Linked DNA regions of Homo sapiens: all the other regions are linked to region 1. Evidence: promoter capture Hi-C in human tissues and cell types (Jung and others, 2019). All regions are on one chromosome and are shown on one strand. The core of a region is centred on a gene start or on the middle of the fragment in contact, and the rest is flanking DNA. Distances in the headings are between cores, read along the strand shown. Region 1 holds the start of SYT1 (synaptotagmin 1). Region 2 overlaps SYT1 (synaptotagmin 1). Region 3 overlaps SYT1 (synaptotagmin 1). Region 4 has its middle 120 kb from the start of LINC02424. Region 5 has its middle 140 kb from the start of LINC02424. Region 6 overlaps SYT1 (synaptotagmin 1). Region 7 has its middle 190 kb from the start of LINC02424.

Region 1 (3,835 bases), core at 1-2,500:
GATAATGGACGGGCCCCTCTCCCAGCTGGGCTCCGCTCCCGCCCCTAGCCTGGCGCGCGGTCCCTTCCCCCACCCGCTGAGCCTTCCTGTTCGGTATTTCGGTATTACCAAGCTATAAATTGCCTGAGAGCTTAGAGACAATCAGGTCACCACCGCCCTCACAAGAGAAAAGCTTCTTACTTCCGAGCAGAACGGTTCAGCTGGGAAGAGAGGAAGCAGGGAGAGAATCTATGCTTTAGTCGTCACTGCTCTGGCAAGGGGTCGAGAGAGATGGGGGAGGGAGGTGGCAAAAAATAAAAATGAAAAAATAAAAAAGCATCTCCAACAATGTTGCACTTGACCCAAGTGTACAAACTTATTGGTCGCTGCAATGGAAACTCCCAGTGCACTCTCCACGGCCTGGCAGCCGCCGCTGATGGGTGGAGTCGCGCTCCCGGCCCCACCTATGGGACGGAGCTGCTTCTCCCGCATCTCGGCTCCACCGCACCCTTCGCGGGAAGTCCCCAGGCTTCCAGCAAAGCTCAGCTTATCCCGCCCCCGCTTCCAACCCGGAACCCCAGAAGAACAGCATGATGAGCCTCCGGCAGCCAGGTGGGCCACCTCCCCGCGGCTCAGTTTGAGGACACTTGTGCGGAACCCTTTCACATCCCCACCCTACCCAGCTTTCACAACTCCGCCGGGTTAAATGGCCAAAGACAAACTTCTACCTCTCCTGTCCCCGGTCCCAGCTTTTCAAAAACCCACAGCTGGCGAACCCACACACATCGAAACTCCTAGGTCGCTGTTGCAGTCTGGGCATGCTCAGTATCAGGGTAGGTTTTGATTGAGAGTAAAAAAAAAAAAAAAAAAGCTTTGTATTATGCTCTCTTTCTCCTGTGCATACTGCTTGCTGAACAGCTTGTGGGGCATTCCTGAGTCTACCTAGAGGTTTTATCAGACGCCCTTGATTGTGTCTCCTTGGGATCTGTTCCCCTCTTACTTCACCCCCTCCCCCAACCCGCCTCCACCCCGCTTCCCAGGTCCCTGTCCGCTGTGGGGATGGAGAGACACTAACAGAACTGGGATGGGCGATGTTGGCTGAACGGATCCACCTATTATTAGTGCGCGGGGATTGGCTCCTTGGCGCAGCGTACCCGAGGTGGAGCCAATCAGGATGCTGGGGCTCGGAGATGATGGGCGGCCGCCTCCTCACTGGAGGGATTCCTGGAGAAGCTGCAGTGTGGGGATGCTCTAGACCGAGTACTGCCCCCAGTGTCTTTCCACCTCCTCCTGCAGCAGCGGCAGCGGCAGCAGCAGTTAGCAGCGGCAACTTGAGGCTGCACCCCGGGCAAGTCCCCAGGGTGGTGCTCAGCCGAGAGGGGGGCTTGGCGCCCCGAAGGGGTGTGTGTAGGGTGGGGGCGACCACGTGGGACCAGCTGGTGGCCCTGGAAAACCTCCCACACACCCACACCCACACACCCCTTTTGTGTTGCAGGCTGCCCCTCCAAGAGCGGAGGCAGCGAGAGTACGCGTGTGCCTCGCGCCGGTCCACGCGGGGAGAGCACTGGGGACCGAGACCCGGCACCACCTCCCGGTCCGCCCTCCAGGTAAGGAAGCGGGACTGGCGGCGCGGCCACCTCGGCGGTGCCTATCTGCTCGAATCCATCCCAAAGATTTTCTTCTCGATACACTTGGGTTTTAGTGGTGGGAGTCTGAGACCTAGGGAGGGATCCCCGGGTGGCCTATTGTGAGAAATATGAGACTACATGTGCATCTCCTGGAAAAGCACTTTGCACAGCGCCCGTGATTTAGAGCCTGGAGTTGATGTTGGGCATCCCCCATCTTCTTGCTTCCTCTTTCCTTCTCTTGTTCTCTCTCCTCCGTCCCCCACCCCCAATCTCAATCTTTTCTCTCTTTCTCTCCCACACCTCCCCTCTCGCCCTCCTCCCACCCTAAGCACGCACAGCGTTTCTTTCTCCTCCTGGAGAGGATTGCCTTTCTTAGAGGAAAGAGGGGGAGTGAAGAAAGGAGAAAGATTTCTTTCTGTTGGGGAGAGGGATATGGGGGGGGGGGGGAACGTAAACAAGATAGAATACAAGCTCTGCGAAAATCAGAGCACATAAAGCAATTAAACTGAATAAGGGGAGTAGACAACCAGTCCAGCTTGGGCTGTCAGAGAGAGGAAGCGTCAAGTTTGACTTGATTTCCTCCTTGCAAGAGTCTATGTCTCTCACTTGATTCGTTCAAATGGAACAAAAATAAACCGACAATCCAACCCACTTTCAACTGCTTAATTGCTTTTGCTTTTGAGTGCCAACCATCTGACTTTTCCTGTTTCCATCTGTCCTGTGGGGCTAACAATTTGGTATTGCACATCAGTGTTAATATCTGAACTTTGAAAGCTTTCTTGAGTAACAAAAAAAAAAAAACAATTAAAATAGATTATTACTTTCCTGAGGTTTCTTGGTATGGCCTGTTGTTGGGGGATCAAAAAATGTAAAGTTTCAAAACATTTGCAAGGGACAACAATTTTATAGGGAGGCTTGGATTTCTACTTTGAGAAAGCTAATCTTCTAGTTAGCTTTGTGTACATGTTGATATTCACTTTCTCCAGTATTAACCCTTTCGTGAAATAAAGCAACTGTTTAACTTTTGTATGGAAGCTACATTTGTGTAGAATTTTCACTTTATTCTACCTTTGTACTATTTGCATTTTATTGTCTGGATACCAAACTTATGCCTGGCTTTATTTTCTTTTAATAGGACAATATTTAATGGATGTAAACATGATGTTTATACAATTTCAGCACTCCCTTTAGAAGGCACATGGAGGCTCAGTTGGACAAGAATCCTCCTGTACTGGAACTAAGTTTAGAAAGTAATGCTAGAAAGATACCCTAAATTTTAAAAATCCTGAAGGGGAAAACATTTTTGTAACGTCTTGTTAAAAGAAAGAAAAATATATCAAAACACCAACATGCCCCTGGCTGCCTGCATAATAGGTCAAGTAAATGGTACTTGTTGGACAGAGCCTTTACAGCAGCTTCAGCAGTCTCTAATTCCATCATTGGGGATATAAGCTTTCTTTTCTTATTATTCTTCAGGGACAGCTAAGCGATAGTACTGTCAGATGGAAGGAGGTATAGAGAAATGCCTCGTTTGATGTAATAGGAAAGCATTCCAAGTGGGTCTTACCTGAACACAGAGAAATCCACAGATGTTAGTATACAAAACACTTCTTTTTATTTATCAGGGGAAATGCAGAGTCTTACTTTTTTTTGTCTAGAACTCCACTTGATATAAGAAAAGAGAATCTTCTATCTTAACTGTGTCTGACCTTCCACACTAATTTTGTATCTCAGAGAGTATTTTTTCACTACGTACGTTTAATATATAAGTTTACACACCAACTTAGAGAAGAGCTGAATTCATTTGCCATCAGTGTAATGTGTACTATTTTCCAAACCATTTTGCATTTGAGGCAATGATCTCTCCCTAAATAGAATTACCAAGTCACGAAAAACGATTTTCTTTCTAGGGCTTTGACATTTAAATGAAAAAAAAAAAAAAATAGTGTCTCTGTTGAAAGCTAACTCTGGTTTTTAGAGGTGCCACCTTTTGGTTACAAGGACAAAGGGACAATCACTTAATTACCTCACATGTATGTACAACTGAATTAACAAGTTTAGACATGAAAAGATGTACAAAAAGGAAGCCAGCTGCCTTCATGTGAGAAAATTAAGATTTTGTTTTCTCATTTCTCCACTGTCTTAGGAATATGTGAAAATTTAGGCTTGGTTTGTGACATTTATTTTCATGACTCTTTACAAATGTTAATTATAGAAATAACATCTAA
Region 2 (3,835 bases), core at 401-2,900, 420 kb after region 1:
TGCCTCTTCATTTTTGAAATAATATCCATGTTGAATATCTCTAAAGAATATTTAATTCATATTTTAAAATTAAAATGTAAATGTACAGATTTTTTATAGAATTAACATTTTCAATTATCAATGTTTTCATCAAATACAAAAGTTTTATTTATTCCCAAATAGCAAAATATATAAGCAGTTTTATAAATTCCTCTTATACTATTAATTACTATTAATCAAACTCTTAAACCTGAATCTCCTTAAGAACAATTTAATCAGGTGTTACAACAGGCATTTTAAGTACATTTGCGTTGTTTCCTAGTTCATTACACATTCAGGGACATTAACTCCCCTTCCCAGCTTCAGTTTTAAACTCTTTTTCCTCAAAGACACTATAGTATCTATTGATAATAATTTCACAAAGGCTCATGTTTTACTCCCTGCATTTTTGTTCTGTTTTGGAGCTATGGAATGGATGAAATGCCTGTACTCATACTCAGAGAGTTTTGGCCTGAGCTCGGAGTAGCAAGGGTTTGATTTTTCTGGCAATTTCTAATCACAGTCACAAAAGCCAATGCATAAACGTTCAACTACAGGTGTCTAATAAAGATTTTTCTCTTCAGTTAATTTAAGTAGAAACTAAAATTTCCAGGCATGTCTTACTTTATTTCCACACTTTTCATAGCAAGCAGGACTTGATAAAGATTTCTTTAAACAACTTATTGGGAGATTAAGTGTGGAAATAACCTCCTAGATGGACATGGACTGAATAATATGTATGTTAATTTTATCAATATTGTGAAAACAATAATTTGACAATAGATCACTATCTTTTTCATAATTATCATAAAATTTGAATGTGGTTTCCCTGTGTTCTAGAACTAATTAAAATTACTGAATAATGTTAAGTGATAACGATAGCATTTCTTCCTAGGACAATAAATCTATAATATTTGTGGGATTTGTTCTGTATGATGTAAAATTATAATTTACAGCATAGTGGTGGTGTTTATTACCCCTGTTATGACCTGGATAAATGACCAAGATCTCAAATATAGAGAATTAATGGGGGTTAATTTTTCATTGATGATCTATTTTTTGGATGGGGAGAGACAGAGAAAATGATTCAAACAAAGAAATATTAAGAAGTCAGTGATAGTTTATACTAATCTGTTATTGCAAATTATTTAGAATTTCAACCACTCAAAAAGATGTTTTCAGTTATTTTAGGTAGAGCACTTTGTCTACATAGGACATTAGCTAGGTCTCAATTTTTGTAAGTTATGAACAATTAAATTCACAGAATAAGGTACAATTTGGACAGATGAATATACACTCCAGGGATAAACGTTTATATAACCATAGCTTATGCTACTTTTTGAAGCAGACAAAAGTAGCTAATCATGGGTTCCATCATTTTATGAAGAGGAAGGCTAAAAAAGCAAAATAGAATGTGCAGATTTTAAGAGGATGTTTCATCACATGATGATCGCCAGATCACCCAAAATTCAAAACAGCATGAATACAAATTAAAATTATTATTAAATAATTATATTTTCAAAATATCTTCAGCAGAATGTTGAAGTGAACATGGGGAAGAAAATAAAGATGGCTTATGCCCTTCTCGTTTAAAAACAAGACAGATGTGAGAGGCATTTTAGATATAATTTCTTAATCTTAAGAAATATCTATATATAGGCTCTATATACAAGATATAAAGGCTCTAGGACAATCAATACATTTTTACCATTTTAATTCATATCAAATTCACAGAAATTCCAATTTCAATATTCATGGCTACATGTCTCTATAGTAAGGTTTTGCAACCAAGGAAGATTTTTTTAAATATTCTGCAATGACTACAAAAAGTATAGACATTTATGTTGCATAAGATATATATTTATGTGTTCTTTTGTATGTGTTAAAATTGGAGAACACTAACCAGACAGAGGGAAAATATTCACATGTAAAGTCATAGGTCTGGAAAGGTCATTTCTCCACGGTTTTCACTAATGTGTGTGGATATTTTAATTTTTATTTCTTCCTTCTATGTCCTTATCTGTGTTGTGTCTCATGACTGTTCTGGACTGTCCCTTGCGGTAGGTTTCCTCTGCTACTTAGACATCCCTAGTCAACGCTCAGATACATTTAGTGGCCTGGCACCTGGGGCTCCACAGCTGAGGGTATATCATTCTGACACACATCAAGAGGCTGAACTAAATTGATTTTTTTAAAGATAAGGTGTTCTCATTTTAAACACGCTAACAGATTAAATATAACAGTATTAGAAAGCTCAAGTTTTAAGTTGATGGACACAAAAAGAAATTCAGTCCCTTGTGCTACTTTTCTAGTGCGCCTTATTAAATCCAAATCTGAACAATGTAACTGAGAATGAACAAATGCTCCTTTTGATGGTTGCAAACAAAGCACCTGTTGAATGTCAAAGCAAACCATATGCATGCGCACTTAATCTTTGAAATTTAAGATAAGGTCTGATGTTCCCAACCCAGCTTTTTCTACTGCAATTTATCAAACCTCAGTACTGCTAGGTTTACAAGCTTTTTCTTCCGAATTTTGTTCTATGAAGAGGAAAATAGTGCTCTTGAGATATTATAATAGCTACTGATTTAATAGGTCTGAATTTAATATGATGGTACAGAAAATGTCTTGCTTAAGCTCAGCCTTTGGGACAGGAATAGACTTAATCACTTCAGTGATGAACAGTAGCACTGAGAAATTATCAAAAATTTAGCCCTATTTCATGCAGAATAATTGCAGAGATGGTCCTGCCTTCTATTCAGGTAAAAACCACTTAGGGAGAAGGAGATTTAATATATCAGCTATTTCAAATTGCATTGGGCTGAAACATGATACATAAATTCAGTTCTGAAAGAGACTTTTGAAAAAGGTATTTTAATCAATGAATTTTTCATTATAATAATAGAGCAACATGCAGATTTATCAAACAGAAGTAGATGTTAAATAGCTTGTTATTATTTTTTAAAAACCAAAATCTTATAGGGAGGCAAATTACCGAAGCTGCAATTTCCTGAGCACACCTAAGACAGTGTTAAAGACTTATACACAGCTAGGGTTTTGAAAGGGCAAAGGGATTCCACTGCCTGAAGTTCTCTAATTAAACTCAGTAGTTTTTTTTTTTTTTTTTGTCACTTTACTATCACGTTACCTTTAGTGACCAAGCCCCTTGTTCACAAATTAAACAATTAAAATAAATTTTAAAATATTTTCATGTTGTTTCCTGCCTTTAGCTATTAGTAAGTCAACATTTTAACATTCAAAGAAACAATGAAGCATAGATTAAACTTTCCAAATTAAGTGGTTTGTAGCTAACCAAATTTGATAATGTTTCTACACCGATGTATATCATGATGGCAATTTTCAATTTTCAAAACTCACTGAAGGCTCCTAAGAAATTTCCAGCAAACAAAGGGGAGGCATCACTGACAACAGCTCAATTCTGTTTATATGACCTTCCCACCTGAATGAGTTCTATTAAACTGTGATACAGCTGAGTCTCAGTTTTTTAGAATCAAATTGGAGTTAACCGGGTGAAGCCAAATTAGAAAATCTTGTAATTTCAAGGACTGAGGGTGCCATTTTGAAGCACCACTGAAGATCCCTGAGTAAGTGGGTGGATTGAACAGAGAATCTCCTTCCTGAGAATGCTGAACACAGCAAAGAAAAAAGACCATGTAGTCTTGGATGTGGGGGTAGCAGAGTGGAGGAACTGCGGTCTGATGACTGATGCCTATCTACAGCCTGGTTATACTTCTTGCATTTGAGTTCTATGAGAATTCTTAGATTCAATTTGAGAGCTAAGAAGAGTTAAGATTCC
Region 3 (3,835 bases), core at 767-3,266, 400 kb after region 1:
TTACTCAGGTAGACATTTGGAAGAAATCTTTTGGGAGCAATGTCTTATTTTGGCAAAGAAAAAAAAATAAAGGGGATTCTACATCCTTAAGGGAGATCTGTGAAAACCTACAATAGCAAGAGTCATGCAGGGCCTTGTGGTCATGTGCTTACAGTTGCAGTGCTTAGAATACAAACTCTAAACAGAAGAGGCATATGATGGTAAAAGAAAAAAATCATGAAGAAAAAGTAACTGTGTAAAAGACTGACAGGTATAGGGAAGTCCCTTCAGACGCAAGAACAGACAATAAATCAAGGATCATGGGAGTTGTAGAATAAAGTTGACAGTTTAAAAGCCAGGAAACAAAAAGAAAAACTGCTGCTACACTTTGAAAATTGGACAGATAAAATTGCCATGGAGAGAAACTGATTGACAAAAACAGAGCAAACTACAGATTGGGAGGAAAATTAATAAGCTTGGTCTGTAGCAGCACAAATCCATTGGATAATCAAAGAAAAATGTCCCGTGGATACTTAGGCAAGTGAGGGGCTTTGTTTTCACTGTTGCCTACCTGTCACTTTGTATAGTAATGAAATTAATGAGCCTGAATCTTCCCTTTCATGACTGTAAAGACTCAAACGCCCTGTTCTTCTCCACCCAAGCATAGCAGCCATGCAATTCTGCTGTCAATGCAATCAAATCTTTCCAAGTTACAGAGAATTCTAAAAACGTCCTCACTTGTTTCTAGAATCTTAAAAGAAAGGTAGTGGAGGAAAAAAAATCCTTCCAAAAAACAAGTAATAAGGCATTTTTGTTTACTTATTGCTTATAGCTGTTGGCCTTAAATTATAAAATATCAGGGAATATATCTGCCCCTTTAGCTGATAATCTTTTATCATAATTGAATTTAATCTCAATAACATTAAATTGCTTAGAAAAGAAACAAAGTAGATATTAAGATATTGAATTATTCAGAAGCTATCAACAGGGGCCATGTTCAATTCTTGGAATGAATTTCTTTTTCTCAGGCATCTTTGCCAAAGTTGGAAAACAGGTTAACAAAATTGTTAACCAAATTGAAAGTGTCAAAATAAAGCCAAATACAAATTGGGTCAGAATCCAAGAGCTGCCTATTGTGAAGTCTTCTAACGTAAAAGTTGAAAAGAAAGTTAGCTTCCTTGACAAAAGAAAAAAAAGACTAAGAGGTTATGTGTTTTTAGTTTTGAACTTAGAAATCAGAACTCAAGAAAGACATACTGAAAATTTCATAGGATGAATGGATTTCCCTTTAACCACAATATTGTGTTGTCCACAGCATGAATGAAAACTGTTACAAACTTCCAAAGGCTTCAGATGATTAGCCTGTGAATTGCCTTCACCTCTGCCAACTTACCTGGCATCCTTTACGTTTACCAGCGCACTTCTCCCTGGAGCCTGCAGACAGCAAGCTCCTGGGCTGACTGTGGAGGCTTATCTAAATCCTCTGAAAGTTGTGCTGGGGTTTATCTCTGCCTGAAGACCCATCATTTTGCATGTCAAATGTCAGACATTCCAATACTGTGAAGATATAGATGGCTTTGCCTTATCATTTAAAGCAGACTAATATTATTATAGGCATTTTATAAAATTAATTATTTGACCAATACATGTGCAGATAAAACGTCCTTCATTCAACTAACTTCCATCATCAAGACTAATCATTGCCTGCAGTGAGAAACATCAGTAACCTTAATAAGTTATTCAGTAGGGACTGTGAATTTGTTCAACAGCACAGGAAGTACAGAAATCAGATCAAAGGGTAGAGGATCTGGTAAAAATTTATCGAAGCATAGATTGTGACTTTGTGTATATCAAAACAATATGATATACTTTACTAAAGTTTTGATGTATTGACAGTTGAGTTTATGGGCAAAGAGAGGCAGATTTACGATTCTATTAAATGTTAAGGATTTTTAAAAAATCATCGAAAAAATTGTATTCATTTGACATGTAAAATAAGTTTGCCGTGACTATATAGCAGAATCAAAATCCATTAACCATGGATTAATCATTAACCCTTTAATTTGGAATTAAGATGATATGTGGTATTTTTCACAGTATTTCATATATGTTAGTCAAATCTGCCCAAGCAGACTGTAAACTAATAAATTATTTCAAACTTGTTCAAATGGATGAGTGAATGAATGAGTGAATGAATGAATGAATGAGTCTCTCTTCTAGATTACTGTTAACCACAATTTATCTGCCCTAAAAAGTCACAGGTAACTGACCCAAGTCAATGGCTTGGAGCATTTTTACAGTATTTTTGCACAGACATATATTCCAGTTTCCTCTTTGTCAGGAACACAAATTGAAAAGAGAAATAGAGCTATGTGGGAGGAGAATGTGACATGTATTCTTAAGGAGACAATTCTGAAGGCTATTTGGAGAAGGCTACATGAATTTACTACAAGGAAACATCTTTTCATCTACTATGATAGAAAAATCTAATGCAGATTTTGATAAGTCTGTATCATATTGAAAGCTCTGTTTAACAGAGTAATCACTGGCTGACAAATTAGATTAAAAGGAGTCTGAAAACCAAAGGAAAGAAAGGAAGGAAAGAGAAAGGATGAAAGAGAGGCAGGTAGGAAAAGAAACGGTGTCTTCCAAATACTATTTTCACCGTGGAGCAAGAAGGGCTTTGGAGCATACCTCAGAACGTAGCTCCTCCATGAAGTCGTTTTTGAATTCCAGGCCCCTTTTATCTTGCCCTTCTCTTTTTTTTTTTTTTATTGAATATCAATAAATTTATTGAATGCCAGATTCTGGGCTCAATGTTTTCATACATTTGTTCGCTTAATCCTTACAGCAATCCTGTGAGGCAGGTAGTGTTCTCTTAATTTACAGGTAGAAAACTGTGAAACAGAGAATTTTTTTATTGTAAATAAAGTCCCTCTCCATGAGCTTTATATATATATCTTGCCCTTCTCTAACCAGCTACCTATAAATCCTTTCTGCTCCACTGAATTTTGTGCTTAACTGTATTGCCTCCTATCTCTAGTTTTATTTTCTGGGAGTTAGTCTTTCTAAGCTCCTAGGGAAAGGGAACCATCCTTTCTGTGTTCTCTGTTCTCTCACTCCACCTCTGCATAAGTTCTCTCACTCCACCCCTGTATAGTTTAAACACACAGCAGATTGTCAGTAGGAAAGAAATGAACGGTTAAATGATCTGATGCAGGAATACGTTTTTCCTTTGGCCTTGGTGTGTCTTGCCTTGATGCTCTGAGAAACAGGTTTTTAATTTGGAGTCCAGTTGTCTTCCAGACCTGGAGAACAATAATCTGCACTCGGGTACCACATATTACCAACTGTATGAAAAAGTACACACACACACACACACAATGCACACACGGATATATGCAGTTTCCCATGAAGAGTCCACAACTTTTATCATATTTTAAACTGGACATATGATTCAAAAAAGGTTTAGAACTATCATTCTAAAGGAAAAAAGATACTTCAGTACCCTGGGGCCAAGAATTGGTAGTCTTTGAAGCCATTTTAGGCTATAATGAGAAATTCTTCATTTGGACCTCTGATTGATTTAATCTTAAATTATGTTCTATGAGACTTTACATACTTTTTCAAATATGCATTTAATGTTCTGTCTCCAGAGGTGGCTAATGAGTGTATTAATGCACATATTTCCAGAACTTTTTTCCATTTGTATTGTATAATTTAGAAAAAGCTTGTTTTTATTTTTGCTGATTTTTGAAAAATGATTATCCTTGTGTGTTTTTGAAAATTATTCATAAACAGCCCCAAAAGCAAGACTTTGAAAAAGATTTTTTGTGCTAGTTAACAGCAGAATAAT
Region 4 (3,835 bases), core at 775-3,274, 390 kb before region 1:
GAATGTTCTATACATGTTTATGATATATGAATATATGCTTTTATCCTAGAAACATCTATTTTCCAATGTTTGAATGTTCTATACATGTTTATGATATATGAACATATGCTTTTATCCTATTCATTTTTTCCACAGACCTATCAGCTACTGAGAGGAATGTTTTAAAATCCATGTCCACGTGCAGAAACTTTCTTCATTTTGAATTAGTGTTGTCAGCTGCTTCTTGTAATTCTCTTACTTTTGTCATTTAAAATCTATATTAAGTGCAAACTATTTAGAATTATGTAATCCTTATGATTTAAAATTTTAAATTAGCTGTGTTTCAATTTATCTTCAGTAATTTTTTTAAAGTCTATTATGTTTGATAGTAGACTATATATAGCTATATCTGATTGTTACAACCCTTAATTTTTAATATTTCTGATTATTTATGTTTAAAAAGTGTCTCTTATAAATTCAATATAGTAAATCTTTTTAATCCAATGTGAAAATACCTGTTTTAACTGATAATTTTACTTAATATTTACTGTTTATCAATATACTTGCATTTAGTATTATTAGACCTAGCTTTCAATATATATGTTGCTTTTTCTTTTTAATATTAGAGTACCTCATTTGAAATGCTTGAGATATTTATATATGTGTTGCTCTACTGGTTTGTAAGTTATACCTTGATTTTTAATCAATGGCCATAAACATTTAACATGCATATTTAGCTATGTCTAAAGTAAATTAATATTTCTAAGCTTCTTCTGAACAATTTAGTAATTTTTTTACACCCAACAACTTTTTCAGTTTACATATTATTGTTTCCCAGTCTTTTAATTGTAGCAGAACAATTTTGGTTTTAGCCCCCAAATTATTATTACCATTGCATTATACATTTATTGCTTGTTTAGATGCATCCACATATTTATGATTTTCTTAGGTCATCAATCTAGGTTGTCTTCTGGATTTTATTATTTTTTCTGTCGACAGTCTACTTAAATTTATTTGTTTCTGTGATGGGCCTAGAGATTGACAGAGCACACTAATTATTGGGTTTCTAAGTCATCTTATACTTGAGAAGCTTCAGCTCAGTGCACAAGCCTCTGTCTATTACAGACAAATCACTGCCATGCCATCCTCTGAAACTCTAAGAATTTAAGAAACTCTAAGAATTTAAAAGTGATTTAACCCCAAAAGTAGTGGATAATTTTGATACTAGCTCTTCCCTGCCTTCACCTCCACCTCCACCTCTTGCCTCCCATTCATGATCCCCCCCATTCCTTTATTGACAATGTCAGATACAAAAGAAGTTCCTCTTCAAAGGTTTGGCTTGTTAAGCACCCTTGTTCTTTGTTCTCTACTTCCAAGGGCAGACAAACTTCCTTATCCTTTGTGCCTGTCTTAGTTTCAGTAAACAACCTTCCCACTGGTCCTTATCTACAGAGACCACATCTGCTACCCACTCTATAAATTACTCCTACTGTCACAATAGCTCTTCCCACCAAAAATGCCCTTCTTGCCAGTGTAACCACTTTCCTGCACCTTTCAAGTTAGCCAATCGAGTTCAGCTTAGATTGTGCGGTTCAACTTCAGCCAGTGGAGGGATAAAAACCCCCTTCCCTCCTTTGTTCAGTGCACTCTCGTCATGACCAGACTTGTAAGCAGCACTCTTCTGCAGAAGTAAATTTTGCATTGATGAGAAATCCTTTAACTGCTCATTTTCTTTGTGACTCCAAGCTCTACTTCCAACAGTTCTGGGGGCTTGTGTGGGATCCCATTCTCCTCCAGGGAAGGGTCTCTGGTCACCTCCTGGGAGGAGACATGTCACACTGCCTCATTGCTTTGGCCTCAGGGGCTGGAGATCAAGACCTACCCATTGTGATGAATAAATCCAGGCTCTCAGCAATGCAGGGAGAAAAAGTTTTGTCTATCAACACTGCAGCAACCAGGTAATTCTGTGCACAGACCAAGGTAAGAAAGAAACGTTGCAGGGGCAACAAAGTATCTCCTTGGGGGTTGGGGATATCTTGGAGGTTTAAAGTGCATGAATGGTAACAAGCACTACTGCTATGTGAAGTGAGTCCAATCTGCAGTTCCGTGGTCACCTCGTACAGCTTAGTGCAGCCCTTCGGGGGTCCCCTCAGGGATTTATACTGACCTGCCAATTCTAAGAGGAACCTGAAATATTCCCTCTGGGGAAGTGGCCAGAGAAGATGAAACAAAAGGAGAAGAATGCAAGGAACCTGCAGCAGGTGGGGTTAAACCTCTAGAGAAGGGAAGGCAAGAAATCTCTAGTACAAGGGATTATGCCTCAGCCAGCCTCTAAAGAAGGGAGGGCAAGAAATCTCTAGTATGAGGGATTGAGCTTAACCAGCACCCAAGATAGGAAATACCCCAAGTAAGGCAGGGAGTAAGAAGGATAGAGCTAACAAAAATCATATTCCCCTTGATAGTCCCCTGGTTCTCATGTTAAAATATTGGAAAGATAATGAAAGTACTAAACATAAGAAAAAGCAACAAATGATAAAGTATTGCTGTATTATTGGGATTCAGGGACCCATCCTCAAACCCTCAATTTTCTGGCCGAAGTTTGGGTCAAATGAGGATGTAATGTGTCAGCTTTTAGTTCAATATTTAAATGATAGAAGTTTGGTTTCTCAAGAAGAACTGGACAATGCGCTTTGTTGGAAACAGGTACCTGTCCTCCTTTTTCCCTTAAAAACAAGGGAAAATTTCAACTTAACACCTCAAGAGGAGAAGTCAGACAAGCTAGTCCCCATGCCTAAAGACCCTAATGCATGGGATCCCCTAGACCATCTTCCCCCACTCGGTACCCCACAACCCTTCCCCTCAGGAAGCAGCTGCCATGATAAATCCCATTCTAGATCCTTCCACTGCTCACATTATCCCTCCTCCTTACAACCCCGACTCTTTGGAATTAGCATCTCATGAGCCTGTCCTTTACCTGTCCCTAAGAGGACTCCAACATGAGACAGAGCAATACAAAAAGGATATGCAAAACTTCCCTTGCCCCTGCCACCCAAGTATCAATTTCAACTTTCTTCCCCTTAAGAGAGGTGCCACAGGGAGGGGGAGCCATTGTGTTCATAAATGCTCTCCTCACCGGTTCAGAAGTTTGAAGTTTAAAAAAAGAACTCAAACCACTGTTACATGACCCTTATAGAGTGGCAGATCAAATTGATCAATTTTTAGGACCTCAGTTATATACTTGGGTCGAATTAAAGTCCATCTTAGGTATCCTCTTTTTGGGGAGGAAAGAAGTATGATCGGTAGGGCTGCTATGGTAGTCTGGGAATGTGAACATCTTCCTGGTCAAAATGTTCCTACCACGGACCAAAAGTTCCCTGCCCAAGACCCCCAGTGGGACAATAACAATGTGGCCCACTGGGAAAATTATGCAAGATTTAAGGGAAATGATAATAACAGGAATTCGGGAATCAGTGCCCCAGACTCAAAATCTCTCTAAAGCATTTGATATACAGCAAGGAAAGGATGAAGGCCCTTTGGAATTCCTAAACAGACTGAAAGAGCAAATGAGGAAATATGCAGGCCTAAATTTAGAAGATCCCCTTGGGCAAGGGATGTTAAAATTCCATTTTGTCATGAAGTTTGTCAGACATTTCAAAGAAATTACAGAAAATAGAGAATTGGGAAGACTATCCCCTAAATGAACTTCTCAGAGAAGCTCAAAAGGTATAGGTGAGGAGAGATGAAGAAAAGCAGAAACAAAAAACAAAACTCATATTATCTACCTTCTAACAAACAGATGGCTCCAAATCCATACGCTTCTAAACAAAGCCACCAGGGGCCAGGAACTATAAAGGGT
Region 5 (3,835 bases), core at 470-2,969, 360 kb before region 1:
AAGCAGTTGAGTGAAAACAGTCAAATTGAGCATGTAGAGCAGCTCTAACCCAAGGGGATATTAAATAGGGCACATGTACAAAGCTATACATTTTTAGGTAAGAAGAAGAGGATTCTTCCCTTTCAGCACATAAACATGTTTGGCCCAGGGCAGAGCAAGAGAATGACACACTTGGTCTTTTTCTCATAAACAAAGGTCTTGCTATTTCACCTCCAAAGCAATTTTCTAGGCTATGTTTTTACTATTTTTGAAGTGAGAAAGAAAGATTTCTGATGTAACCCTGAAAGCAGGAGAACCATTTTTTTGCTGCAAGCATAGTGTATTATCAATTTGGTGTGAGGCCTGGAGAGCACGGAAGTGATCACTTCTTAGTGCAGAGGGGAGAAAGTTCTGAGTTTGCACAAATTAGTAGTTTTCATTGTTTATAGAAGATGATCAAAAATTCATAAATTTCAGAAAAACATGGAATCAGAAATTGATGTTTTATTTTCTTCTATGTTACTTTAGCTGGATATTTTCAGCCATTTTCAGAATGGTTTATATTATTAATTTTATATTCATAGAATCATTGACCTTAAGAAGCTTTGCTCTAATAGAAACTTCATTCTGTTTTTCCATCCAATCAGATCAATAATCAATCTAGTTAATCAGCAAGCAACTAGTAGGGGTCTGTTCTATCCCAGATGAACTCTAGGTATAATTCCTAAACAATGCAATTTTAATATACAAAGGAGGTAATACAAAAGAGCCTGAGGATATTGGCAAGCATGCAAGCCTATGCAAATTATGCAAGTTCCATCTATTTTAAAGTGCTGTATTGTGTTATATAAATGTATAACCATATGTTACAAAACCAAAATCAGGACCCATGTTCCAATAAATTATTTTTGTGCCATTACTGGATATGAGAAACTGTCTGGGAAAGGTAGTTTAAGTGCTGTAATGATGGAGTTTTTAGGATATTTTAATGGTTTATGGGGACCGCAAACAGATATTTGAAATTAGTTTTGTCTCCAAAAACCTGAGATAAAAACTTATTTGGAAACTCAGATATAATAAATAATAAAAACCAGACTATTACTTAGATCTTTATATTGATAGACTATTGGAAAAGATTTGTTCTTATTTTTCTCTATGTTAGTAAAAAAAATTACCCTGGATAAACGTTTGAGAAACTGTATGTTGAAAATAATGTAATATGATTTTATGCACATATTAAGCTTGATTTTGCTAGCAGATTATATTTTGGTAAACAGAAAAGGTAAGAAGATGTTTCAGGTTAGAAAAATGAAATGTTTTAATAAACAGAATCAAGACAAATTTTTGGCACATTTGTAGGATTATGAGAGGGTGAAACTATTTGAGCAAAAAATACATATTATAGATTAGTGGGCATGAAGAACCATCAGCAAAATAAAGCCAGGATTATGGAAGGCTTGGAAAACCAGACAGTCTAGGCATGTTGGATTATCTGGATTATTTAGATACTCCTATTGCAGTAAGGCATAGAGTCAAATATAAAGTTGCCATGACTTTATATTTCTTAAAAGATGTACTAATGATAGATAGGTGTACTTAGTTATGACTATACTTTGATACTGTTCTAAAATTTGAGATCTTACTTTTCTAATGATTTAACGCATAGAAACTACTTATTTTCCTTCTCCTCCTCCCCCATCTCCTCCTCCCTGTCTCTGCCTCTGTATTTCCACACACACATACACGTGTGTGCTCAAGAAAGTTGATTAACCTCACATGTGTGTATATATATACACACATATATGGAGGTCAATTAAACTTGGCTGAATATAAGAAAATGAATTAATGGCCAGGTGCAGTAGCTCAGTCCTGAAATCCCACCACTTTTGGAGACCAGGTGAGATGATCACTTGAGGCCAGGAGTTTGAAACCAGCCTGGGCAACATAGTGAAACCCTGTCTTTACAAGGAATTAAGAATTAGCTATATGTGGTGGTGATGCCTGTACTCAGGATGCTGAGGCAGGAGGATGGCTTGGGCCAGGAGTTCAAGGCTATATTGAGCTGTGGTTGCCCTACTGCATTCCAGCCTAGGCGACAGAGCAGAGACTCTGTCTGAAAAAAAAAGAAAGAAAAAAATGAATTATTTTACTATGTCTTTTTTATTTTTCCTATGACACTATGATTTTCTGCCTTGCTGTTATCATCTAAAAACGTTTTTAAGTTATTGAAGAGAAACAAATCCCATCCTAAGAATTGGAAGATGGTGAAGGAAACTAGTATGTATGAAGCCAAAGCTACTTGACAATCACTGATCTGGATGACTTATATGCGCACATCAATTCAACCTTCTAACCAACTACAGGAATGAATATCTCCATTCTGCAAATGAGAATATTGGAAACCAAAGAGGTTAATCAACTTTCTTGAGAGTACACAGTAGGAAAATGTCAGAGGCCAATTTGAATCCAGATCTATCTGGCTCCAAAACCCATACTCTTTTCTCTGTATACATCTTTATTCAAACAAAATACTGCCACCACAGGGTCAGTGGCCTAGAAGATTAAAACTGCTTTGATCTTTTCAATCCCACATCTGTTTGAAATAATTCAACTAAGTTTCTTTTTGTTTCACCCTTCAATTATGGACCGTAAAACAGTCACTTGTTGATTGATTTAATGGAAAAAAAACTATTAAAATCTTTCTTTGTGCATGAAAAGCCATAAGATACATCAGAAATCTTAGATCCCATGACTGTTGTTTGTAGTCAACAGAGAATATAAACTATAGGCAGTTTTCCTGATAATAAAAAGTGAGAGTAGTGTTTCTGGAATTAAAAAAATAAAAAGTTGGCAAAATAGAATTGGTTTTCTTTTTTCTATGCTTCTCTGCCATCCACATTTAGTGCTAATTCTATCTGAATGGCAGAAAGTACAAATGAAAAATCACAGTCTAATCACATGCTGGCCTTATAATATGTTACCCCAGTCAATTTCCTGTACAATATATGCTTCCCTTATTCACTTTGCCCCTGTCTGTGTATCAGCCACTCCTTTACCTGATAGTTTATTAAGGAAAAGAAAACTTAAGCTTTTCACAGCTCTTTTGTTCTATGCAGTAATTATCCTTCTTGCCTCATTCACTTAACCCAATTACTTCTGTTCCTTTTCTTAGAGAAATAATATCAACTAGCTTGTCCTACATGGGAGGACCTGCTTGAAGCACATTGCAAGTTCTGACTTACATATTCCTTGTACTTAACCCTATAAGGCTAGTTCTCTTATCATCCCTTCTTTACCCATGTGGCTTCTGCGGCATAAAGTGGTTATGGAGTAGGGATTTGAACCCATACACTCTGACTAGAGTCCACATACTTAACCCCTGCATTGTGCCATTCAATGCCAAGAAGGAAATTAAACTGTTCTGCCTCATTTTTACTAGTAGTAAAATGTGGATAATATTTTCTAAATTTCAGAATCATCAGGATTAAATTAGATCATTTATGAAGGGGATTATCATAGTATTTGAACAAAGCATTTTCTCAATAGATATTATATATTCTACATAATTCTATATATTAAGTTTACTTATATATTTAATACAAGTAAACTATAACATATATTAATTATTAGAATCATTGTCTTCTTCATCATTGTGATGTGCCTGTCTCCTATTATGGATATCTTTTGGACAGGATTTTATTTATTTTGTACTCAAAGTGTGCAGTACAGCATCTAAAACTTAGCAGCTAGTTAACATGTATTTGTTGAGCCAATAAGAAATATACAAATTACTTAAGTAGTGTCATGTGTTTCAAAAGCTTGTTTTGAAATTACTTTGTACTTTCCATGTCATAAA
Region 6 (3,835 bases), core at 833-3,332, 330 kb after region 1:
TTGGAACTTATAAAAAATGTATCTGGAACATCTGAGTGCAAGATTTTTGATTGGATTTTAGAATTCAGATCTATGATTTAAAAGCAATTTCTTCCTTTCTGAAAGTGTCCATGTCAAATTGATTTTTAAGGAGAAAGAAATGGTGTAATTTGGATTTTGAACCCTTTTCTCAGGACTTAGATTGTTTTCATTTATCTTGACTTCCTTTATCTTTATTGCATCCTCATGGAGTTGGAAAAGCATGTGTTTTCACAACTTTTTTTTACAAGGGTTGACCACAGGCAAAGCCATAAATAAGGCTTTATTCTTTGTTCCATTTCACCTTTCTAGCTTCACATCTATTCAATGCCAATGTGGCTTTCTAGCTAATACTCTTTTTTTCTATCTTGAGGGAAAAGTCTTAATATTTTGTAGCATCACTCCAAAAAATAATTTGCTTTTTTCCCCCCACAAAGAGTAAGGAGAGAAAATAGTTAACACAAATGAATTAATCACTAATGGCTGACTTTCAAGTAAAAATCCAATGAATGTGGAGTAGTTGTCTAGGAGATGTAACTGGAAATTTTTCAAGTCCTTGAAAATGCATAGAAGAATACAGAGTCCCACTTTATTATTCTTATAAAAACCAAAGATCTGAGTATCAAATCACTAACCTATTTTTTTTTATCTTGATGCTCAAGCTCTGAAAGTAGCTCTTTCTCAGTCAGGCTTCTAACTTCTATGATGGTTGCATCAACTTTAATGTTCTAATTTTTAGCACAGCTAATGGAGTAAACTGTAACTGAGTAAAAAGATGACTAGACCACTATCTAGCTTTCTGACTTTTGGAAGCAACCATCCCTTTCTGAATGTTATTTGCCTCCTCTAAAATTAGGAGGCTCAAGCTATTTCTTAAAAAAGAGTTCTGCAATAAGCTTCTTGGGTTTGAATTCAGATTCTATCACTTTACTAGCTCTGTGGTCTTGTACAAACTATTTAGTCTGTCTACACTTTAATTTCCTTACTGTAACATGGAGATCATTGCAGTATCTACTATAGAAGGAATTCTATCAAATGATGTTGGCCTAGTTGACTTTCAATAACTTTTAGCTATTGTTTGATTCAGAGGTATGTTCAAGTCATTATAGCTATGTAAAACAATTAAAATAACTGAAAAATGTGAACAATTCCCAAATATTTGTATAATAGCTGACATTTTATTAAGTGTTTATTATATGAGAAACACTAAGTTCTTGATTTGTATATTTCAATTATTCCTCTCAGTAACACAGTATAGAAGATATAATTATCCCTGGTTTACCCATGAAAAAATTAACCTAGGAAAAGCATGGTGACTCACACCTGTAATCCCAGCACTTTGGGAAGCCAAGGCAGGCAGATCACCTGAGGTCAAGAGTTTGAGACTAGCCTGGCTAACATGACAAAACCTCGTCTCTACTAAAAATACAAAAATTAGCCAGACATGGTGGTTCATTCCTGTAGACCCAGTTACTCTGGAGGCTGAGGAAGGAGAATCACTTGAACCCAGGAGGCGGAGGTTGCAGTGAGCTGAGATCGTGCCACTGCACTCCAGCCTGGGTGACAGAACAAGACTGTGTCTCAAAAAAATAAATATAAATAACTTAAATAAGCACACAGTCACACAAGTGAAAAAGTGCTGGAAGTGGCATATAAAGGGGAGCGTGTTTTCCCCCAGAGTTCACTCTTTTAATCACTGGACTGTATTTTGCCTTCCACTCTGGTGGAAGACCTCTGCCTTCAGTCTAGATGACTAATGCATAATTAACTGCAGCACTACATCCTGAAGAAAATCAACCTGTCCATGTTTCTTGAATCATTTTTACAATTAATATCTGATTTATATTTCTTCTTTTCCGAACTTGCCAGAGAATTTTAGAACATGATGCATATATATTTTTCAAGCATGCAAATCCATAAAGTCAAAGAGAGTTTTTGAACCACAGCTTGTTACTCCCCTACCTTCTTTCCTGTCAAAATCACCTGTGAAGAATCAACTTTCTCAGAAAGCTCAGCAACTTATTGAGATTTGGCCTGGAATTCACATAAAACTAGATAAAATTAGTGCTAAAAGGCCTATAAGAGCACCATAAAATAATTGACATCAAAACACCCACACACACACATACATTTTCATTTCAAATGTAAGAAGCCAGAGCTCTGACCCCATTGCTTTCCATAGCTGGCGAAAAGTATGACTTTTGAAATCGATACATTGCAATCTCCATGTTACCATCCTAGTGCAGTACTCCACAGCACCGGCGCCAGGAAGAAACATCAGTGTTTCATTCTCCAGATTAATGATCTCCTTTCAGAGAAATGACTTTCAGCTATTTTAGACTATATGCCCTTCATTTGAGAAGCAGTTTGTATTCATTCACTTACAGTCAATATTCACTAATATCATGGATTGATGGAGTTAAAAAGCTTTTCATTAGTTCTGTTAGCAAGGCTAATTTTTATAGCATTTGATCATTTTACTTCTAGTTGCCCCTCTTTTTTTCAGAACTTTGTGTCCCCCAATCATTCTTTTGATAGAGTAATATATTACATGTTTTGTATCTACAAAGATGTGTCCATGTCCCCAATAATGAGAGCAGCTACTCACAAAACAAGGTTCCTGTTTCTTGAACTAATTATGCACAGAAATTTCTACCTCTCACTTACCAATGAGATAATTAAAATGTGAGTCTTGGAGCAGAGAGGATTAGAGGTTTAGATGCTTGTATAATACATATATTACTGGCTAGTAATTTGTACTGAAAAAAACATAAATATAAATATATATATATGTATAAACTCTTTGCTCCATTTCTCATGTATCTTATTATTTGTTTATTTTTGCAGATGTTATTATTCCTAAATTCAAATTGGTCACAGGTTCATTCAAGAAAAACACTATACCAACGTAACTACATACCAATTATAAAAATAAGGAATGTCTTGATGAAACATAGATATGGGGATAGAATAGATATTCCTGATCTCTAAGTGTACATCAACAGTAGGGTTCTTTCCTCATTAAGTTTAACTTACCAAGAACATGTGTAAAAACTCTATTTTGCTGTTCAAAGACATTCACATGAAATTTTTTTAGTGAAGTAGCAGATCCAAGTACATGAAGAGCCTTGGGAATAAAAATAGGCAAAGCCTTATAATAATGATTCCTGCTAATAGAAATATTTATAATTACACTATGACATCCTGTTTTTAGTTGCTATGCAATTAACATTTTCTCTTTTCTTCTACTTCCTCTTACACTTATACACATGAGGATATGTGGGTTTCATTATGCCAGGATGACTAGGTAGAGACATTTGTTGATATTTTAAGAATTTTAAGACATTTCTAGACTTCAAAAATGCATGGTTAGTTGTTTCTTTTTTATTGTCAAAAACTTGTAGTGGACATTGCTATGCTTCAGGGACTTCACACATACATAACATCTCCTTTAATCCTCATGTAACCTCTGAGGACTTGCTGGTCTAGTATGGAATATGGGACATATACCTGAATAACCACAACTTAAGACACAAAATGGTGACGGCCATGAGCAAGGTACAGAGATCAGTAGCCATAACCGTGCAGAAGAAAAATGTTGCTTCTACCTGAAAAAAATAAAAAAGGTTCCTTTAAGTGGTGACATTAGGAGCTGACCTGAGGGGAAAACAATGGTACTTTTAATATCAATCCACCCCTATAACTTCCCCTTAACTTTAGATGTGTATCATTAGCATTATTCTTGTGTTAAAACATTAGGGGGATGCTTTGGCAAGAACCTGAAATGAAGACAAGCGTGCAAGTAAAAAGGAAAGAG
Region 7 (3,835 bases), core at 991-3,490, 310 kb before region 1:
CCTAACAATCTTTTCTCAGTTGCTAACTATATACTCCAAATCTATTAAGTAAGTAACTGCCTCTTCATTGATCTTAAATTCTTTTTATTATTCACTGTGTTAAAATGCAAAAGGTGATTTTTTTGTTTGTATTCGATGTAAACTAATATGTTTATGATTTCTATCTATAAGGTATATTTTATTTTTATATAGGGAAGGAATCCCTATTTAAAAACAAATTAACAATAAACAGATTTGGGGATTACCAATATATTTGTGCTGAAGGATAGGTATCCTCATTCTCTATTAGCTGGCAAGTGGGAAAGTAATCAACCCGTCTAGTTCATTTCTAATGTTACAGCCAGTTGGATTGGAACATAAAGAAGAACTCTCACAATTGGAGCTTTTCAACTGGAATTGAACATCTCAGGAAGCAATGAGTTCCCCTTCACCAACTGTAGTTGAAGAAAGTAGTTAAACAAGGACTTGCTGCCAATTTGGGAATTTCTATTGAGTTCTTATTGTTTTATTTTAAAAGACTCCAAGGTCCATTTCAGCTTTAAGATTGCATGCTTCTTTTAATCCATCTGTGAATAAGGTTTTTTCACAGTATAAGATTTAGAGAGTAGGAGTATTGGGTTAACTTTTGCATAGCTCTTGAACCATAGAGCAAATCATTTGCTTCATTTAACTTCTATTTGAATGACCAAATTTGCAAAGATTCTCATCAAGTTTAATGTCTACACTTAACTGTACTCTTTCTTATAAGTATACAGTGAAGTCCTAGCAAATTAAGTTCATACCTAAGAGAAACACAAGGCTTATTTATAAGTTCCCAGGTGGTTTTAGAAGTTGAGTAAAACAACCAACTGGACTTACCCAACAGTGGTTTCATGCCATTACTGAGAGAGTACAATAGATATTATCTACTTGAAGGAGGATAATGATGTTGAATCTATAAAACCATACATAAAACTACGTTGAAAGCAAAGCTATGTCTCATCCATTCAGATATTGAGGAAACAAATATATTATAGAATTATAGGCTATTTTAAATAAAGACGTATAAGACAATAAATCAAAAGTTTAACAAAATATGACCTGATAGAAGCAAAACTACATTTATTCTGTGAAAGGTATTCTTTCAACAAATAGACAGGCATTATTACAATTAATATAACAAATAAACTTAAGTAGACGCACTTAGGATTAAAAAGTTTGGTTTCCCTCATAGCTTAAAAAATATTGATAGATCTGTAACCTATTAATATGCCTGTTAATCTCTTTTCTGTGATAATCTACATTAGTCTTAACCTAAAATAATCAAAATGTTTATGCAGACAATTTCCTTGATGAAACTGTAATACACTGATAGCATTACCTGTAGAGCAAAGAGAATGCTATAGAAATATACCTCACAAAAGAGAGAAAAACCTACAGTTTTTTGGATGACTCTTAAAGGAGGCTCAGTCCTGAAATTTCTGCTTCCCTGACATAAATAAATTATTTACACAGGTCACAACTAATTGCATATTTTGGTACTTCGCATTCTGCTGCGTGGCTGCAAACACAACCTGAGCTGTTGACATGGTACAGATGGTTCACAGTTCCTGGAACAAACTCAGAAGAATTTGTAATGAATGATCATCGTTTCAAAAATTTTGCATTTTTCCTCTTCTTTGCAGGAACTGTTTAGTACAATTTTCATTGTAAAACACAAATGCACAAAGTTGTGTCACACATTTGAAAAAGAACATTTTTTACAAATAATTTGACATCAAAATGTCGAGTAAACAATTTCAATGATAGTGTGTTTTAGCGTGATTAAATATTTTAGAAGAAACAACATGAATATTTTCCTGCATCTCACTTTACTCAAATATTCAATGAAAACAATACCCACCTCACTGGGTATTGAAAAGAAGAATAAATAGAAAGCCTAAGGGTTATGTTAAATGTCAACACATATTTTCATTATTATTGCTTAGAGTTTAATTCAATGAGATCTATCTATTTTCAATTTCATATATAATTATGAACTTGTAATAGTGTAGGGCCTCAGAAAATGATGCCCCAAAGTATGGCTCATTGACATGCTGAGTACTGTAAACTGAAGGGAATCAGGAGGGCCTCAGAAGAGACAGTCTCTGACCTTCTCATAGTACTTTTTCTTGCACACTCCTTTATCCTCCAACATGAATCACAGAAATAAGAATTTCTCTTCCCCAAGGCAGGTCACAGAACTCCTATCCTCCAACGCAAGCCATAAAACCTAGAAAGGTCACTCTTTGACCTACCTCCCCTGAAAGTAGTTCATATGACCCTTGTGTGACAAGTGTCCTGTCCTATACCTCAGGGGAAGGGATGACTCTACGAAACCATAGCCTAAAAAAGAGAGGCTAAGAAGGATCTGAACAAACAGGTTTTGCAGGGTTTCCCCCAGTTTATTACCATCATGTTCTTTTTGTCCAGTCAAATTTCTCTGCAAATATCCATGTGTTTTGTCGATCCAACATAAAAATATACAGTATTCCTTGGGTCTTTGTGTCTTCATTTCTGAAGGGTTCTATTTCATGTGAAACTTTGTTACATAAATGTATTGTGCTTTTCTCTTACAAATCTGTTTCTTCTCTTAAATCTGTTAGGAATATCAGTCATGGACCTTGAGATGGGTGAGGAAAATACATTACTTTTTTGCTCATATACTAAGCACAGTGGTAAATGAGAGTATATATGTAAGAGACGGACATGAGTTCAACCAGTTATAAGGTCAACTGTGACACTAGAATAGATTGATGGTGGTAATAAGTTCCACATTGACAGTGAGGGATGATTGAGGAAGATGATCTGGGAGACAGGTTTAAGGATACTCATGTTGTAGGTTCCCCTTGACCAAAAATATTCCACATTCATATAGTCCAAACTTTCCCCCACTGTACGCTCTCATGTAGTCAGATGTTCTGTCATTATAGCAACCCTTATTTGGTTCAGAAGCTTTTAAAACAAAAGTATTGTGGGTTGGTAAGAAAGTAAATGATGGGATTCATTTTTCTATTTTTTAGTCATATTTATTTTCTAGCATCTTCTAAATCTTTTAGTACCCTTTCATAGCTCTAGGCCTTTGAAAGTACAATTCTCTGCTTGGAATGCACATTTTCTCTCCCTTCCTGCCTACTACAGCATTTATCTGACAAATGTACTCACCTTTTAAAACTCAGCATAAGATTACTTCCTCTGTGGACCCTTTCCTAAATCTCCCAGAATGGGGAGCTGCCTTCCTCAGGGCTCTCACAAGGTTCTCCTTTAGTCTTTTAATGCATTTATCAGACCATCTATTATAATTTGTCTATACTTGACAGTGAGATACCGAAAAACAAAGATGTATCTTATGTATATTGTATTTCCTAAAATTCAGTATCCGAATTGTGTTTCTAACAGATGTTTTTACTTCAGTTGACAGATACAATTGTTTTATAATATCATAATCTGCTAAAATTAGCATAGAGACAGAAACATAGCTGCGGGAGTAAGAGAGGCAAGTTAGAGATAATGAAAAATTGTTAGAAATGGAAGTTCTAGGAAGGCATATGGAAACAAGACTCCAGTAACCTCCAGTTGAGAAAAAGAGTTTCAAGGTGATAGAAACAGCTGTAGACTTTTAAGATAAATCAAAAGCCAAATTGCCCACTCGTCAACTCTGCTCAAGGTAGACTCTGAGAAGAGGGTCCTCAAATTTAAGTTACCGTTGCTTTGAATTCTATCCTCTGCAAAATAGCCACAGGAGTACACTGTAGTAGGCTTTATTGGATTTTATTATTTCCCTCTCTCTTCCTTTTTACTCTCCAGTAGTTTAGTT

Evidence for each region. The method cuts DNA at HindIII sites, captures the fragments that hold promoters and counts their contacts. A contact is called where the count stands out against the background at its distance.
Region 2: a fragment that was not itself captured here is called in contact with the fragment with the promoter of SYT1 in region 1 in 1 of the 25 tissues and cell types used here (hippocampus).
Region 3: a contact is called between a fragment that was not itself captured here and the fragment with the promoter of SYT1 in region 1, in 1 of the 25 tissues and cell types used here (hippocampus).
Region 4: a fragment that was not itself captured here is called in contact with the fragment with the promoter of SYT1 in region 1 in 3 of the 25 tissues and cell types used here (bladder, dorsolateral prefrontal cortex and neural progenitor cells).
Region 5: a fragment that was not itself captured here is called in contact with the fragment with the promoter of SYT1 in region 1 in 2 of the 25 tissues and cell types used here (dorsolateral prefrontal cortex and mesenchymal stem cells).
Region 6: a fragment that was not itself captured here is called in contact with the fragment with the promoter of SYT1 in region 1 in 2 of the 25 tissues and cell types used here (H1 embryonic stem cells and dorsolateral prefrontal cortex).
Region 7: a contact is called between a fragment that was not itself captured here and the fragment with the promoter of SYT1 in region 1, in 1 of the 25 tissues and cell types used here (dorsolateral prefrontal cortex).

Annotation. Positions count from the first base shown.
Region 1 is chr12:78,863,524-78,867,358 of GRCh38, forward strand. SYT1 (synaptotagmin 1) reads left to right here and starts at 1,251. Exons shown (of 11, transcript NM_005639.3): 1 at 1,251-1,586. RefSeq lists a silencer at 35-94. The HindIII fragment of the contact is 3,235 bases long and covers 1-1,615 here.
Region 2 is chr12:79,286,763-79,290,597 of GRCh38, forward strand. The region is part of intron 5 of SYT1 (synaptotagmin 1); the gene reads left to right. Among named protein-coding and RNA genes, the nearest start is that of MIR1252, 130 kb to the right of the region's middle. The HindIII fragment of the contact is 6,617 bases long and covers 1-3,835 here.
Region 3 is chr12:79,266,353-79,270,187 of GRCh38, forward strand. The region is part of intron 4 of SYT1 (synaptotagmin 1); the gene reads left to right. Among named protein-coding and RNA genes, the nearest start is that of MIR1252, 150 kb to the right of the region's middle. The HindIII fragment of the contact is 3,828 bases long and covers 103-3,835 here.
Region 4 is chr12:78,475,553-78,479,387 of GRCh38, forward strand. No RefSeq gene overlaps it. Among named protein-coding and RNA genes, the nearest start is that of LINC02424, 120 kb to the left of the region's middle. The HindIII fragment of the contact is 4,897 bases long and covers 1-3,835 here.
Region 5 is chr12:78,500,285-78,504,119 of GRCh38, forward strand. No RefSeq gene overlaps it. Among named protein-coding and RNA genes, the nearest start is that of LINC02424, 140 kb to the left of the region's middle. The HindIII fragment of the contact is 3,425 bases long and covers 8-3,432 here.
Region 6 is chr12:79,188,303-79,192,137 of GRCh38, forward strand. The region is part of intron 3 of SYT1 (synaptotagmin 1); the gene reads left to right. Among named protein-coding and RNA genes, the nearest start is that of MIR1252, 230 kb to the right of the region's middle. The HindIII fragment of the contact is 6,639 bases long and covers 1-3,835 here.
Region 7 is chr12:78,549,466-78,553,300 of GRCh38, forward strand. No RefSeq gene overlaps it. Among named protein-coding and RNA genes, the nearest start is that of LINC02424, 190 kb to the left of the region's middle. The HindIII fragment of the contact is 5,459 bases long and covers 1-3,835 here.